Linked DNA regions of Homo sapiens: regions 1 and 2 are each linked to region 3. The links are contacts of gene promoters, found by promoter capture Hi-C in human tissues and cell types (Jung and others, 2019). All regions are on one chromosome and are shown on one strand. Each heading gives the region's core, a stretch centred on a gene start or on the middle of the fragment in contact. The rest is flanking DNA. Distances are from core to core; before and after follow the strand shown.

Region 1 (4,795 bases), core at 1,436-3,935, 96 kb after region 3:
CATGCCTGTAATCCCAGCACTTTGGGAGGCTGAGGTGGGCGGATCACCTGAGGTCAGGAGTTCGAGACCAGCCTCAACATGGGGAAACCCCATCTCTACTAAAAACACACACACAAAAAAAAATCAGCTGGGCGTGGTGGTGCATGCCTGTAATCCCAGCTACTCGGGAGGCTGAGGCAGGAGAATTGCTTGAACCTGGGAGGCGGAGGTTGCGGTGAGCCGAGATTGGGCCGTTGCACTCCAGCCTGGGCAACAAGAGCGAAACTCAGTTTAAAAAAAAAAAAAAAAGAAAGTAAGATCTATGCTGCTATGGTTTTAATGTGTCCCCTGCAAAATTCAGGTGTTGTCAATGTGATAGTATTAAGAGGTGGGGCCTTTAACAGGTGATTATATCATAAGGACTTCTCCCCTCATGAACAGGATTAGTGCCCTTATGAAAGAGGCTTCCCATGGCTGTTGGCCCTTTTGCCCTTCTGCCTTCTGCCAAGTGAGGACAGTGTTCCTCCCCTCTGGAGGATGCAGCTTTCAAGCCACCATTGTGGAAACCAAAATTGGACCCTCATCAGACACAGAATTTGCTGGAACCTTGATCTTGGACTTCCCAGCCTTCAGAACTGAGAGAAGTAAATTTTTATTTTTTATAAATAAACCAGTCCCAGATATCTGTTATAGCAGCGCAAAAGGACTAAGACAATGCTTTCTTAGACAATGGGTTGCTCAAATGTCGAACTCTGCTGTTTTATGCTATTTCTATAGTTTACTTTTCAAGATTTTACTAATATAAGCTTTACAATTTTATAATGTACTGATACACATTTTTATGGTGTTCTTATTATATTCCATGGAAAATGGCAAAATAAATTTTAAGATTCCAGAAAAAAAAAAAAGAAAGAAAGAAAGAAAAAGGAGTGAAGAAGAGCATGCCCCTCCCTTTTGGGAATTTCTGGAAATTGCATTTCTGCTTACCTTCATTGGCCTCACTTAGCTGCAGGAGCCCCTAGGAAATATAGTTTTTATTCTGAGTGACCATATGCCATATGGAGGAATCCTATTACTCAGGAAGTAGAGGAAACCAGGGATCTCTACGACAAATGCATTTCTCTGCCCTCATCTTAACTCTCTGTCAATAGCATTTGACCACTACTCCTGGAAACTTTTTTTTCTTTTTTAGAGATGGCCTCACTCTGTTGCCCAGGTTGGAGTGCAGTGCCGTGATCATGGCTCACTGCAGCCTTGAGCTCCTGGGCTCAAGTGATCCTCCCACCTCAGCCTTCTGAATAGCTGGGGACGCAGGCATGCGCCACCACGCCTGGCTAATTTTAAAATTTTTTGTAGAGACAGGGGTCTCACTATGTTACCCAGGCCAGTCTCAAACTCCTGGGCTCAAGAAATCCTCCTGCCTTGGCCTCCTAAAGTGCTGGGATTACAGGCCTGAGCCACTGTGCCCAGCTTCTTCTTCTTCTTTTTTTTTTTCCCAGAGACAAGATCTTGCTTGGTTGTCTGAGCTGGAGTGCAGTGGTGTGATCATAGCTCACTGCAGCCTAGAATTCCTTGCCTTAAGCAATCCTACTACCTCAGCTTCCTGAGTAGCTGGGACTACACGTGCATGCCATCGCACCCCGCTAATTTATTTCATTTTATTTTTTAGAGATGGAGGTCTCACTATGTTGCCCAGGCTGGTCTCGAACTCCTGTACTCAGGTGATCCTCCTGCCTTGTTTTCCCAAAGTGCTGGGATATGGGCATGAACCACTGTGCCCAGCCACCCTGACTACAGCACTTTTCAGTTTACAAAGCACTTTCTTTTTTGTTGTTGTTTTTGTTTGTTTTTTGTTTTTGAGATGGAGTCTCGCTCTGTCGCCCAGGCTGGAGTGCAGTGGCACGATCTCGGCTCACTGCAAGCTCCGCCTCCCGGGTTCACGCCATTCTCCTGCGTCAGCCTCCCGAGTAGCTGGGACTACAGGCGCCCGCCACCACGCCCGGCTAATTTTTTGTATTTTTAGTAGAGACGGGGTTTCACCGTGTTAGCCAGGATGGTCTCGATCTCCTGACCTCGTGATCTGCCCGCCCACCTCAGCCTCCCAAAGTGCTGGGATAACAGGTGTGAGCCACTTCGCCTGGCCCCCTACAAAGCGCTTTCAAATACAACGTCTTTCTTGCCGTTTACAGCTACACTGTGATACTGTAGACATCCTCTTCACAGATGAAGAAATAGAGGCTCAGAGAAATCACTAACTCAACGCCACTTGGTTACTAGGTTGCAGATCTTGCACTGTACTTCAACTTGGAAGTCCTGGCGCCTCCACAGTGCTCGTGAAAAGAGGTGGACAGCAGGTGACGCATGTGCAGGGTTTGCCTAAGGCCAGGTAGGAGAGTTGGAAGCTGGCCCTGAAGGCCCCAGAGAGCACCAGCATTAAGGGAGAAAGCAATCCCTTTTTGGTGCAACAATTACCCTCCTTCCCTGCCTCTCTGCCTCCCTGCCTCCCTGCCTCCCTGCCTTCCTACCTTCCTTCCTGCCTTCCTGCCTGCCTTCCTGTCTTCCTGCCTTTCCTCTCTCTCTCTCTCTTTTTTTTTCTTTTTTTTAAGACAAGATCTCATTCTGTTGCCCAGGCTGGAGTGAAGTCGCCCGATCTTGGCTCACTGCAGCCTCTGCCTCCTAGGCTCAAGCAATCCTCCCACCTCAACCTCCAGAGTAGCTGGGACCACAGGCACACGCCACCACGGCCAGCTTATTTTTCGGTATTATTTTTTTTTTGTAGAGACAGAGTTTTGCCATGTTGCCCAGGCTAGTAAAATATTTCTATAGGGGTGATGTGGGGTGCAGGAGATTGTGGAGAATAGAGGGAAGTAAACATTAGACAAGCACCACGAGAGGGAAATGTGCTTGCCAGCTGGCGCGCTAGCAATCCCATCTTAGAAGTAATCAGGGAGTAATCAGATGTTCAGACCAAGAGTCTGCTGAGTGTCTTGTGACTATATCAATGTTTTCTCAGAATCAAAGGGATCTGCTTCTCTTCACAGCCTCGCTCCCTCAGAGGCCAAGCTGAGAAGTTTTGAAGTTTGGCATGATTCTCTTATTCTGCTTTTCCTTGTCAGTAACTACTTTGCTGACTTCTTTCCAATTTCTTTCTCTAAATCCCCACCAATCCTGCACAGACCCTTTGGGGCTGGTGTCTGCCAACATTATGTTGAAGTTGCCGGGGACACACAGATTTCTGATTTTAAGCTGTTTAGGGGTTTGCACCGTCTTAACAGCAAGCAAAGGTGAGTGACTTGTACGTAACTCGCTCAAGTTGACACAGTCGGAGAGTGGAAGCTGGGACTCAAAGCCAGCCTGTGACTTCTTAGACCACACGCTGTCTCCCAGCATTAGTTCTGGAAAAGGAAGAGCCCCCAGGAAACACCATTCCGTCCATCACATCCCTGTGCCCCTTTCATCTTGACGGACCCACCCTAGCACTGGCCCTGGAGACACATGAAAGCACGCCTCAGATGCCTGCTCCTGGGAAGGCCTCGAGCCCCTCCCGGCTTATAATTGGCCCACTTGCTCTTTCTCTTCATCTGGCTGGGGCTTGGATTCCTGGCTGGAGTCCCTGGCTTTGATATTTGCTTTTGCTCTCCTGGTTTGGCAACTCATCACATTCCCCGGGTGGCCTCCATTTTCTGTTAGCCCTCTGCCCTGCTCCCTCCTCTGGGTTTGTGTCCTCCCAGGGCCTCCAGTAGGAATTCTAGGAATGCCTAGAGTCCAGACAGGCCTCATTCATCCCATAAACATGTACTAAGCACCTAGGGTGTGTTGGGCACTGTTCTGTCTGCTGGGGATGCAGCAGTGAATAAAATCAAAGTCCCTGCCCTTAAGGAGCTTATATTCTACTGGGGGGAGTCACATAACAAATGAAGAGTTGTGTCAGGCCTCCTATTCTATTTCTCCCCCTCCCAGCCATACCCAAACTACTCTTGGATCTGATCTGCGTGACAGAGGCAAGGCCACACACACACTAGATCAACAGAGGGAGTGTGAGATGCAGAAGTGAGAGGCGGCAGGTGCCCCAAAGCCTCCTGACACAAGGTCACCGCTGCTGTGTGAAAGAAAATGCTAGAGAAGGCTGGGTGCAATGGCTGACGTCTGTAATCCCAGCATTTTGGAAGGCTGAGGCAGGAGGATTGCTTAAGTCCAGGGGTTTGAGACCAGCCTGGGCAACATAACAAGACCCCTAATCTATAACAAAACAACACTACAGAGAGAGAGGGCGGACCTGGCTGAGGGAGCAGCCCCAGCCTGTGGTCACTGGGACCACGGAAGGAGCCACATGCACAGGTGCTCACTTGTGAACAGCACCTACTTTCTGGGCTTCAGAGCGTGGTCCCCGGAAGAGTGCCAGTGCGTCATCTGGGAGCCCACTGCACGTGCAAACCTCACCCCACCCACTCCAGCCCTTCCCAGTCAAAATCCTCAGGGGGTTCCTGAAGTTTGAGAAACAACAGAGCTAGACTTTTTGACCAGGTACAGATTGATCACCCCAAAGCCATGGTCAATCCATGATAACTCCTCTCCCCCATGGAGATGGAGTAGGGATATGAGTGGGATACAGAGACTTCCTTCCATGGAAAGGTATGCATTTGAGCAGCATATTCATCACCGTTTGTAAAAATTAGTGACTTTTCTCTTTACAAACAAAACACCAATAAAAATGAATGAAAGAAAATTAAATTTGAAAGAGGTGCTTCCTTTTAATTTGACTTGTAATATTTTTAACTGTCAAAATTTCAACAAATAAATCTCTTTCTATACTTTT
Region 2 (4,614 bases), core at 875-3,374, 72 kb after region 3:
TGCCTCAGCCTTCCAAAGTGCTGGGATTACAGGTGTGAGCCACTGTGCCTGGCCCCTTTTCACATTCCTAGTAGTGTCCTTTGATGCACAAACGTTTCTAGTGTTGATGATGTCCAGTTTATCAAGTTTTCCTTTTGTTATTTGTTCTGGTTATATTTAGTAGTGACTGGGAGCTCTTCGTGCAAGGTAGGACTTGTCACCTGGTGGGTTTCGCTTTAGGGTGATTGGGCTTGGGGAGCTAGCTGTTTTATTGGGGAAATCAATAAATATGTGTGTTTACTGGACTTTTTTTTCCCCCTGAGGTGATTTAGTTTCTCCAGAGACGATTCATCTAATTTCCCTGGAAGGGACATACTTGGTCACAAGTGTTCTGGTAGTGGGATAAAGGGTCGGGGGTAGGGGCCCTGACCATTTCTGATGCTGGCTTTCACTTAACTCTCCTGTTCTTACTCCCCCTCTTCCCTCTCTTTTGAATAAGCCCTGTGTCCCTGAGACCTGTTGCCCTCCTGTTTAATTTCTGAAGATGGTCACCCTTTGGTCCTCTTTAAAAAGTTTTTTTGTTTGTTGGTGTGTTTTTTAATTTTTAATTTCATAGAGACAGGGTCTTGCTATGTTGCCCAGACTGGTTTTAAACTCCTGGGCTTAAGCCATTCTCCTGCCTCAGCCTCCCAAAGTAATGGGATTACGGGCAGGAGCCACCATACCCGGCTGACCCTTTGATCTTCTACCGATGCATGGGAGGGGTGGGCCTGGGGGCTGGACTGTCCAGTGTACAGACTTTTTGTCAGTTCCTGGGGACAAATCCTGTTCCCTCCAGCTCCGAGCCACGCAGCTCAGCTTCTTATCTGTCACCCCTGAAGATATTGGTAGGTTGTGACTCTTTTTGCTTTCTCTACCCCGTGGAATCCAGTGTGGTCCTAATCAGCTTTGAGTCTCCAAAGCTTGCCCAGCTCTCTTGTCAGCTGGTCTCTTTGTTTTCTTTATCTTTGTGGTGCTGCATATTGTTTAAAGTTACTTGCTGTTGTCCTTCTAGCTGGGTCTCTGGAAGGGGAAAAAATAAACTGGGGTAGTCAGTCTCCCACCTTTAGCCAGGTGTCCAGGATGATGGGGTGACCTGTGTGCCACTTCGAAGGGGTCGGCAGTCGCTGTTTGGAGTGCTGGGCTGAGAAGGCTCTAGCAGGGAGGAGTGCTGGGTGGACGGTCATGGCCACGTGCGTAGCCAGGGAAATATTTGTTAGCCCTTCTCCTTAAGCGATGAGGAGTCATTTAAGGTTTTCGAACAGGGCAGGACGTGGCCAGGGTTGTGCTTAGTTGGTTAACTCTGGCACCCAGACTGGAAGCAGGTGTGAGACTCCTGCAGTGGAGACCAGGCAAGACGCATGTGCCTCCTGAGGACCTCGGCCGAGAGGCTGGCTTCAGGGTGTGGCGTGGGAGGCAGGATGCTGTCCACTTTTTCTCAGGAGGGGCTTAAATCATCTCCCAGTCTCCCGTCCAGCCCCGGTTGTGGGAATTGGAACCTGTACAGCTGGCAGTGGCGCTTCCCAACCCTGCTGTGAGTCTGAGGGGGCCCCCAGCCCCCTGGAGAAGCCTTCACCCTTGCTTGAGCACTCACCGCCCCCGGCCTGTCCAGGCTCAGCCCTGACTCAGCGGAAGGAGCTTAGGCGAGCTGATCTGTGGCTCTTTCCCGGCATGGCTCAGGACCCTGGGGATACAGTTGGGGTCAGAGCGGAGACCCAGTTGGCAGTGGCAGGAAGCACTCATGGGAACACTGCCTTGGAGCGGGAGGTGGCATGTCCGGGACCCTCTTGCACTAGCTCCTGCCTTTAGCTATTGGTGATATTCTGTGTTCTTCTAGCCACCCTCCAGATAAGGACCATCCTAGGTCTCTTGTTTCACAAGTAGGGGAAACTGAGGCATGGAGTAAGCAGGGCCTGGCCCTGAGTCCCCCAGCCAGGGTGACCTCTGTCCTGTGGGCACTCCTGTTGGATACATGCTGTGAGATAGATGGGCCCAGATAGACTGAGAGAGATGACAGCTGCACTCTTCTCACCACGTTACATACAGTCACACGTCTCATCCTCACCACAGCCAAGACTGGATAACCTCATCTGCAGAGGGGAAACTGAGGTACAGACAGGTAGAATCACCTGCCAAAGGTTGCCCAGTTCATAGTACCAGACCCATACCAGACCACGGGTCCATACCTGAGCAGCCTGACCCCAGGGTGTGTGCTTGGAGCCACCATACTAAACAGTCCTCCTTGCGAAGTCACTGGCTGCCCTCCATGCAGCATCCTGGAGCTTCTCCTGCTCCCACTGGAGAAGGCTCTGAATTGTCTAAAACAGATCCCCAGCCCCCTGAGGAACAGCAGGCAGTGGCAGCGTGGGGAGAGCAGACTTAGCTCTGTGCAGTCAATGTAGAGCCAGCCCCTTGGGCTTCTTGGGCGTTCTCGACCTCAGATATCCCTTCCAGAAAATAGGGCAGTGGCCCTGCGTGGAGACTAAGGTTGCCAGGAAGGAAGGAGGACCTAGAAGGTACTTTTCCAAACTTGGTAGTGGCCTGTGTCCTCTCTTTCTTTCTGACTCTTAGGGGAGTTTGGAGGTGGGGGTTGATGGGAGAAGAGAGGGTTGGGACAGCTGGTGCCAAAGACATGGGATTCAGCAGGTTCCCTTGTGGACCGTGTGCTCCAGCCGTGTGCTGTACGGACCCAGCGCGGCCCTCGGCTTCCAGGAGCTCGCACTCTGGATGGGAGGATCCAGCGCGAGTCTCGGGGTCCTGGGACAGGAGCCGCTGGACAGGGGGCTGTGGTGTGCCCCCCAGCAAGGCCCTTCTGATGTGTCATGGCAGGGCACGGTGGGCAGCAGTTGGCCCCAGCTGGGGCAGAGTCTCAGTTCTACCACTTGAGAACTGTGTCCTGGGCAAATATTGGCTTCTCTGTGCCTCTGCTTCTTTGTGTGAATAGTCAGCAGTTTGATCTTGGGGACCTGCCAGGGGCTGTGTCGCTGAAGACCCCGTGTATGTGGCCGGCTGGTACTGAGTGGGGGGCTGTGGCCTGCCCTTGCCCCACCCCTTGCCTGAGCCCTCTGAGTGCCAGCGGCCTGGGCAGGTGAAATCAGAGATGAGGGAGCGCCGGAGGCCAGGGCACCTTGGCGGTCATCTGCTCCCTCCTCCGCATGTGTGGGGCGGGCAGAGGCACCAGAGGAAGACACATATGTGACGGGGAAAGGTACATATTCGTGTTTGCTGACAATGAGACTTTGCGTCAATCGTGGGTCCTCACAGGCTGCCCCGGCTCCCCCCGCATCGGGAAGCTCCTGTCTTCTGCTCCCTGGCCTGGTCCCGCCTTCCCCCTCCATCAGCTGGTGTGAACTTGGCCACACACAGTTAGGAAGGAAAACTGCTCAGGCAAGGAAACGGTGTCGCCTCTCCCGGAGCCTTTCTTTTCCTGCCTGGCTGTTTTCTCAGTCCTGGCTCCCAGGCCCTGAATGTGTGTGCTGGAGAGGCAATCAGAACCCCCTTGGAGTGGGAGGAGGACTTGTCCGTCTCCAGTCCAGCCTCCCTGCCTGTCCCCTGAGTTACTGCTCTTACTGAGGGCGCTGTGGTGGTCATTCATAGACTCTCGGACTGCTGGGACACATTTCCAGCTAGAAGTGGCATCTGCCAGCCTGAAGGGCTGAGGCTGCTAGGGCTGTGCACAGCCTCAGCCCTATCTGCTGAGCGCCACGGGGCCTGGAGCGAGGGACTGATGCGATGAAGCTCCCTTCCTCCCCCAGAGCCCCGCAAGTCCAGCAGAGGCCACCTGTCTCTGGGGCCGGTGAGAGGGGGCCTTTGGTGGCCATTAACGCCGCTCTGCACATTGGAAATGCCAGGCAGAGCCGGGCTGCACCGTGGAGGCAGCAGAGTACCCCAGGCCTTCCTCCCATCTCAGCCTGCTCTTCCCTTTCAGTCCCTGACATTTCTCCCAGGCACATACCAGCACATGACAATGAATCTGAGCCCCTCCAGGCCCCCACACCCGGGCTGCGGCTGTCTCTGCTCATCTGTCAGTCACCCGATCCCCCACACCTGTTCCAGGCACAGCTGCCCACCCGCACGCACAGCTATGAATAGGGCGGAGGGAGGGTTGCAAGGGGGCACTCACAGGGCAGGGGACCGGGGCAGCTCTCATTTTTTCTTAGGCCAAGAAGCGTAGCTTGTTTTGGGTGGTTGCTCAGTGTGGGGGGATATGAGGGTGGACAGGAAATGTCAGGAAGGAGTATAGCTGCAGGAGAAGGGGTGAGGCTGTAATTAGAAGGATCCAGGCACTGAGGACGAGTCGAGGTGCTCTGGGGCGGTTCGTCCGTGTCGCCGGCTGGTGTGTTCCGGGTTTATGCAGTGTGAACATGAGTTCTGGGGCTGATTGTGGGATCTCTCTTTCTCCCCCTGACCCATTGCTCAACCCTAGCACTTGCATTCTATTTGTTCTCCCGATTATAAATTCCCTGAGAGCAGAAACAATGTCTCAACCTCTCTGGGCCCCCCTGCCTCTAGCACTGCTGGCCTGGGCTGGACAAATGGGCACCTGAGCGATGGGAAGAGCCAGGGAGTGGGAGCTGATGACAGAAGAGTGTATCT
Region 3 (4,676 bases), core at 144-2,643:
CCACAATTCATCTATTCAAATGAGGGCTGCGTCTTCAACGCCTTCACCTTGCAGGACTGGATGCTTAGCTCAGTCATTGCTTGAAACACTTTTGGAATACCTCTCTTGGAAACAACTTTGGCATCGATAGCACTTTCCTTTCAATATCTTCCACGGTAGCAATTGTTTTTCATTTATGCAGCATTTATCATGCACTTCCCTATCCCAGGCACCAGGCTGGATCTGTGTGAAAGATAAGATAAATCAGACATTACTCTGTCTTCAAGGAAGTTTCTGTTTGGCAAGGGAGATAAGATCTAGACAACCACCCAACACAAGGCTAAGTGATAATGCCCCAGAAAAGGTTGGATTTGATTTTTGGAAAAAGCCAAAAGTCCTTTGGTTTCAGTCTCCTGGCCAGGTAGATGATGGCGCTACCTGCCAGCACACTGCTTTAAGCCCGTTTGTCCTAAGCGTCTCCAAACAAGGAGCCCAGCGTGTTTCCAGCACCTCCTGCCCCAATAAGAGACTCCTGGGCATGTGTGTCTGAAGTCCAGACTCTCACCGATGGCAGTATACACCGAGGCCTCCCCAGCTAAACTCTGAGCTCTTTGAGGGCAGGTGCTGACGGCTGATCCTGATCTTCACAGTATCTGGACTCATCACACATCTTAGATGAATATTCATTGAGTCACTGAGCCCAGAAGGCGTCCCATGGCATGCCACATGGACTTCAAACCGAGTGCCCTTTCTCCCATGTGGTTTACTCGTAGTGGCGGTTTTACAGATGCCCAAGGGGCAGGAGAGAAAAACGGAAAGAGCTAAAGCCGGGGAGGGCAAGCGAGGGGGCACTGGCAGCGGATCTGGGAATGGAGCCCGCGAGTTCCTGCTTCCTGGTTCCCCGGAGCAAGTGTCCTTTGGTGGGAGCCGCAGGAAGGGAGCAGCCCTTCCTGCGCGCCGGGAGCCCGCCCCTTCCCCGGCCTCCCAGGGACTCGTGCGGAGGGACGCCGGGTGGCGGGGCGGGAGTCTGGGCCCCGTCCACCCCCCCGCCCCCGGGACAGCCCCACCCCGGCGAAGAGGAAGGCTCTCGGCTCCTGGGAAAGGGAGTCGGGACCCCGCCAGGAGGGGAGGGCGCGGGGCGCGCAACGAGCAGCCAAACAGTCGGAGCGGAGAGATCGAAGGGCTAGTGGGCGTGGGGGCCGCAGCCGAGGCCCGGGTGGAGGGGTCCCCGCCGTCCCTCGGCCCCCTCCCCCGCCGCCCGCCCCGGCCCGGCCCGGCCCCGCCCCGCCCCGGCGGCCCGGCCCCTCGCCCGCCCGCGCGCGGCGCAGTCTCCTCCCCGAGGTGCCGGTGGCCCCGCCGCCACTCCCTCCGGCTCCCTCCCTCCCGCCGCGGCGCGCATCTCATTCCAGCCCTCATTCCGCGCATTCCAGCGTCCTCCTCGCACACTCGAGGCCAGGGGGCGGGAGGGCCGCAGCTCCGGCGCCGCCGCGTCCCGCCAGGTGAGAGGCGCCCGCGCCCGCCGCACCCGCCGGCGCCCTCACGGGCCGCGCGCCCCACGCCGCCGCAGCCGACCGCTCGCGCCGCGTGCTCGGCTGCTCTTTTCTTTCCGCCGCCCGCGTTCCCGCCTTGGACCTCTGCGCTCCGACGCGCTCCGTCCCGACCTCTGGCTTCCCTCCGCGCTCCGGCGCTGCTCGCTGCCCCTCTCCCGCTTCCCTCCTGTCCGCCCCGCGCTCCCCTCCTCGCTCCCGGTTGACTCACTCCTCCAGGAATAGGGATCCCCGTGTTTTCCCGTCAGTCCCATTCTGGGAAAACTCCTCCCTCCGCGCGCTCCGCTCCGCTCCGCTGGGCGCACCGGGGCCGGTCGGCGCGGGGTGGGCTTGGCCCCGCGGCCCCGCCTTCACTGCGCCGCCCGTCGGCCCCGGCCGGAGCCCGGCTCTGCGCGCTGACGCCCTGTCGTCCCCGCAGAACGATCGCCGCGGCCGGAAGAGTTGGCGCTCGGGGCGGACTCCTTGGAACTGGCTTAGCGCACCCATCCCACCTTCCCGCACCCTGGGACCGGTAAGGCTGGGGCGCGGGGACTTGGTAGGACTTTGCCGGAGGGCAGGAGTCTGCGCGGTGCGTGCGGAGCTCCCTCCCGGGACGAGACTGGGAAGAGCGAGGCACGTGGAGGCGGCGCGACTGAGGCTGCTGGAGGCGAAGCGGCTCCAGGGGCGGGTAAGGGGGGTGGACACTCGGGACTTTGGGGGAAAGGGAGGCCGGTGTGGAAAGGACCGGAGAGGCAGAACCGAGAGCATCGGCAACAGAAGAGACCCAGCACCCATGCCTCTTTTCTGCTGGGCCCTTTTCGAGCCTGGAAGGGAGAGACCTGGAGGTAAGCGGACTGCCTGTTTTAAGTGCAAAGGCGATGCGAAAGTCGGGGGACCCCTGCAAAAGGTCCTACACCTCAGGGCTTGGGAAGCTGCTGTGTTTCCTGATGGGGACTAGTGGATCGATCCAGGGAGCAGAACTTTCAAACCCCAAAGTGAACATTTCCCCCGTTGTGCTGAGGCACTTGAGGCCCCGCGGACTGACTGCGTCTGTGCTGAGTCTGTGTGACACCTGACTGCGAGTCCCCCTCGCTTTGAGTCTCTGTGTGGGTGATGTCTGTTCACGTGTGGCTCACCTTGGCTTCCAGTGGGCGTATTTGTTTGTGTTGAACGTGAGTGACAGAGTGTGTGTATATGTCTGCGTGAGAAGGGGCTGTCTGAAAGTGAGTATCTCTGAGTAGGTGTGTGATGCCACGTCTCTTGAGTATGTGTTTCTCTTCGAGGATGTTGGTTCTGGCTAGGACTGTTCTTCCTCCCTACATAGCCGTGGGCAAGAGTCAGTGTCTCTGGTTGCCTGAGTGCAGGGATAATTTGACTGTGGTTTTGGAGTGTGTGGCCTCCAGGCTCCGTTTCCCCTGGACCGGGCAGAGCTGGAAGGAAGCTGGCTCCACCTGCCTCTTGGAGCCAGGAGGCTGACTTTCTCAGGGCGAGGGTCTTGTGCTTGCCTGGAATAGGTCAAAAAGCTGGTAGGAGGCTGAAGGAAGTTGAGATCTTTGCCTTTGGGGGATGGGATGGGCGGGTGAGATTTGGGAAGGTTTGTCGGGGTGGATCCCCGGGAAAAGGAGACAGTTTTGAATCTGGAGACTTGTGTAAATAGTGCTTTTAAGTTGCCCTCAAGGACAAACAGGGAGGTATACCAGCCTGAACTACTTTTCCTGGTTTAACTCTCCTCGGAGCTGACCAGGTAACCCAGTAGAAGAATCCCTCATTCTTTCCAACTTGCCAGACACTCAGCACTTCCTTTGAGAAGAGGAATGAGTAGCTTGTTGCATGAGGGCTTCAACGTGGATATCATGTGTAGGGCTTCTTGGAAGGAAGGAGCCAGAAACTGTCTCGGGGGTTGGGGGTTCTCGTCCTTGCTCCTCCATCCATCCTGAGGATGTGGATGTTCTTGTGGGAAACACCTCACCCTCTCACCTCTTCGGCCTGGTGTGCGACTGGTCTAAAAGCAGCACTGATGGAGTGGAAAGGGCACAGGTTTGGGGTCAGGCAGACCAGGGTACAAATCCTGAGTCTCTCACTACCTTTAAGGCTCTCAGGCTGTTTCCTGGTGGGTAATACGAGCGGAGCTTTTCTGTCCAGAAAGTTTCTTGTGAAAAGTCGATGTCTGCAGAGCCCCCACCCAGCAGCACAGTGCCTGGCACATCCCATGGACTCCATAGGATAGCTGTTGTATCCAGTGTTTCCTTCGCTTATTTCAGTAAGAACCCCTTTTTCCTAGGGATTAGTGTTTTTTGAATTAGTGTTTCTCTGAGCACCATTTGAGAAACCTTGCCCTGTCTATCATGTTTATTTAGCAAACATGAATCGAGCATTTACTGTGAGCCAGGCCCTACGCTGTGTTCCGCGTCCTTAGGAATCCAGGGTCCTAGTGGCCCAGGTCAGGAGGGAGGGGGACAGACAGGGCTTTGTCACCAGAGAACAGAGTGCCAGCTTCTATTTTCTGATTCCAGTTTTGCCTTGGCCCCAGGGTGAGCTTGCTGAACATTATTAGATACCCTAATGTCAGCATCTAAGTCCCCCATTTTATTTTATTTTACTTTATTTTTATTTTATTTTATTTTATTTATTTTTGAGACGGAGTCTCGCTCTGTCGCCTAGGCAGTAGTACAGTGGCATGATCTTGGCTCACTGCAACCTCCGCCTCCTGGGTTCAAGCGATTCTCCTGCCTCAGCCTCCCGGCCGGCTAGTTTCATATATATATATTTATATATATTTATTTATATATATAAATATAAATATATAAATATATATATAAATATAAATATATATATATATTTTTTGAGATGGAGTTTCGCTCTTGTTGCCTAGGCTGGAGTGCGATGGTGCGATCTCGGCTCACCACAACCTCTGCCTCCCGGGTTCAAGCGATTCTCCTGCCTCAGCCTCCCAAGTAGCTAGAATTATAGGCGTGCGCCACCGTGCCCCACTAATTTTGTATTTTTAGTGGAGACGGAGTTTCTCCATGTTGGTCAGGCTGGTCTCCAACTCCCAACCTCAGGTGATCTGCCCACCTTGGCCTCCTAAAGTGCTGAGATTATAGGCATGAGCCACCACTCCCAGCCGTTTTTTGTATTTTTAGTAGAGGCGGGATTTCGCCATGTTTGCCA

Evidence for each region. Contacts are between HindIII fragments. The study calls those that stand out against the background at their distance.
Region 1: a contact is called between a fragment that was not itself captured here and the fragment with the promoter of TEAD4 in region 3, in 6 of the 25 tissues and cell types used here (aorta, dorsolateral prefrontal cortex, hippocampus and 3 more).
Region 2: a contact is called between a fragment that was not itself captured here and the fragment with the promoter of TEAD4 in region 3, in 2 of the 25 tissues and cell types used here (H1 embryonic stem cells and IMR-90 fibroblasts).

What each region holds. Positions count from the first base shown.
Region 1 is chr12:3,052,247-3,057,041 of GRCh38, forward strand. No RefSeq gene overlaps it. Among named protein-coding and RNA genes, the nearest start is that of TSPAN9, 23 kb to the right of the region's middle. The HindIII fragment of the contact is 4,772 bases long and covers 300-4,795 here.
Region 2 is chr12:3,029,627-3,034,240 of GRCh38, forward strand. The region is part of intron 10 of TEAD4 (TEA domain transcription factor 4); the gene reads left to right. Among named protein-coding and RNA genes, the nearest start is that of TSPAN9, 45 kb to the right of the region's middle. RefSeq lists an enhancer at 2,539-3,100. The HindIII fragment of the contact is 4,891 bases long and covers 1-4,570 here.
Region 3 is chr12:2,958,004-2,962,679 of GRCh38, forward strand. TEAD4 (TEA domain transcription factor 4) reads left to right here and starts at 1,394. Exons shown (of 13, transcript NM_003213.4): 1 at 1,394-1,478; 2 at 1,945-2,037. It overlaps LOC124902859 (a long non-coding RNA gene), which reads right to left and starts at 2,045. Exons shown (of 2, transcript XR_007063159.1): 1 at 1,738-2,045; 2 at 1-222. RefSeq lists an enhancer at 1,564-2,299. The HindIII fragment of the contact is 29,957 bases long and covers 1-4,676 here.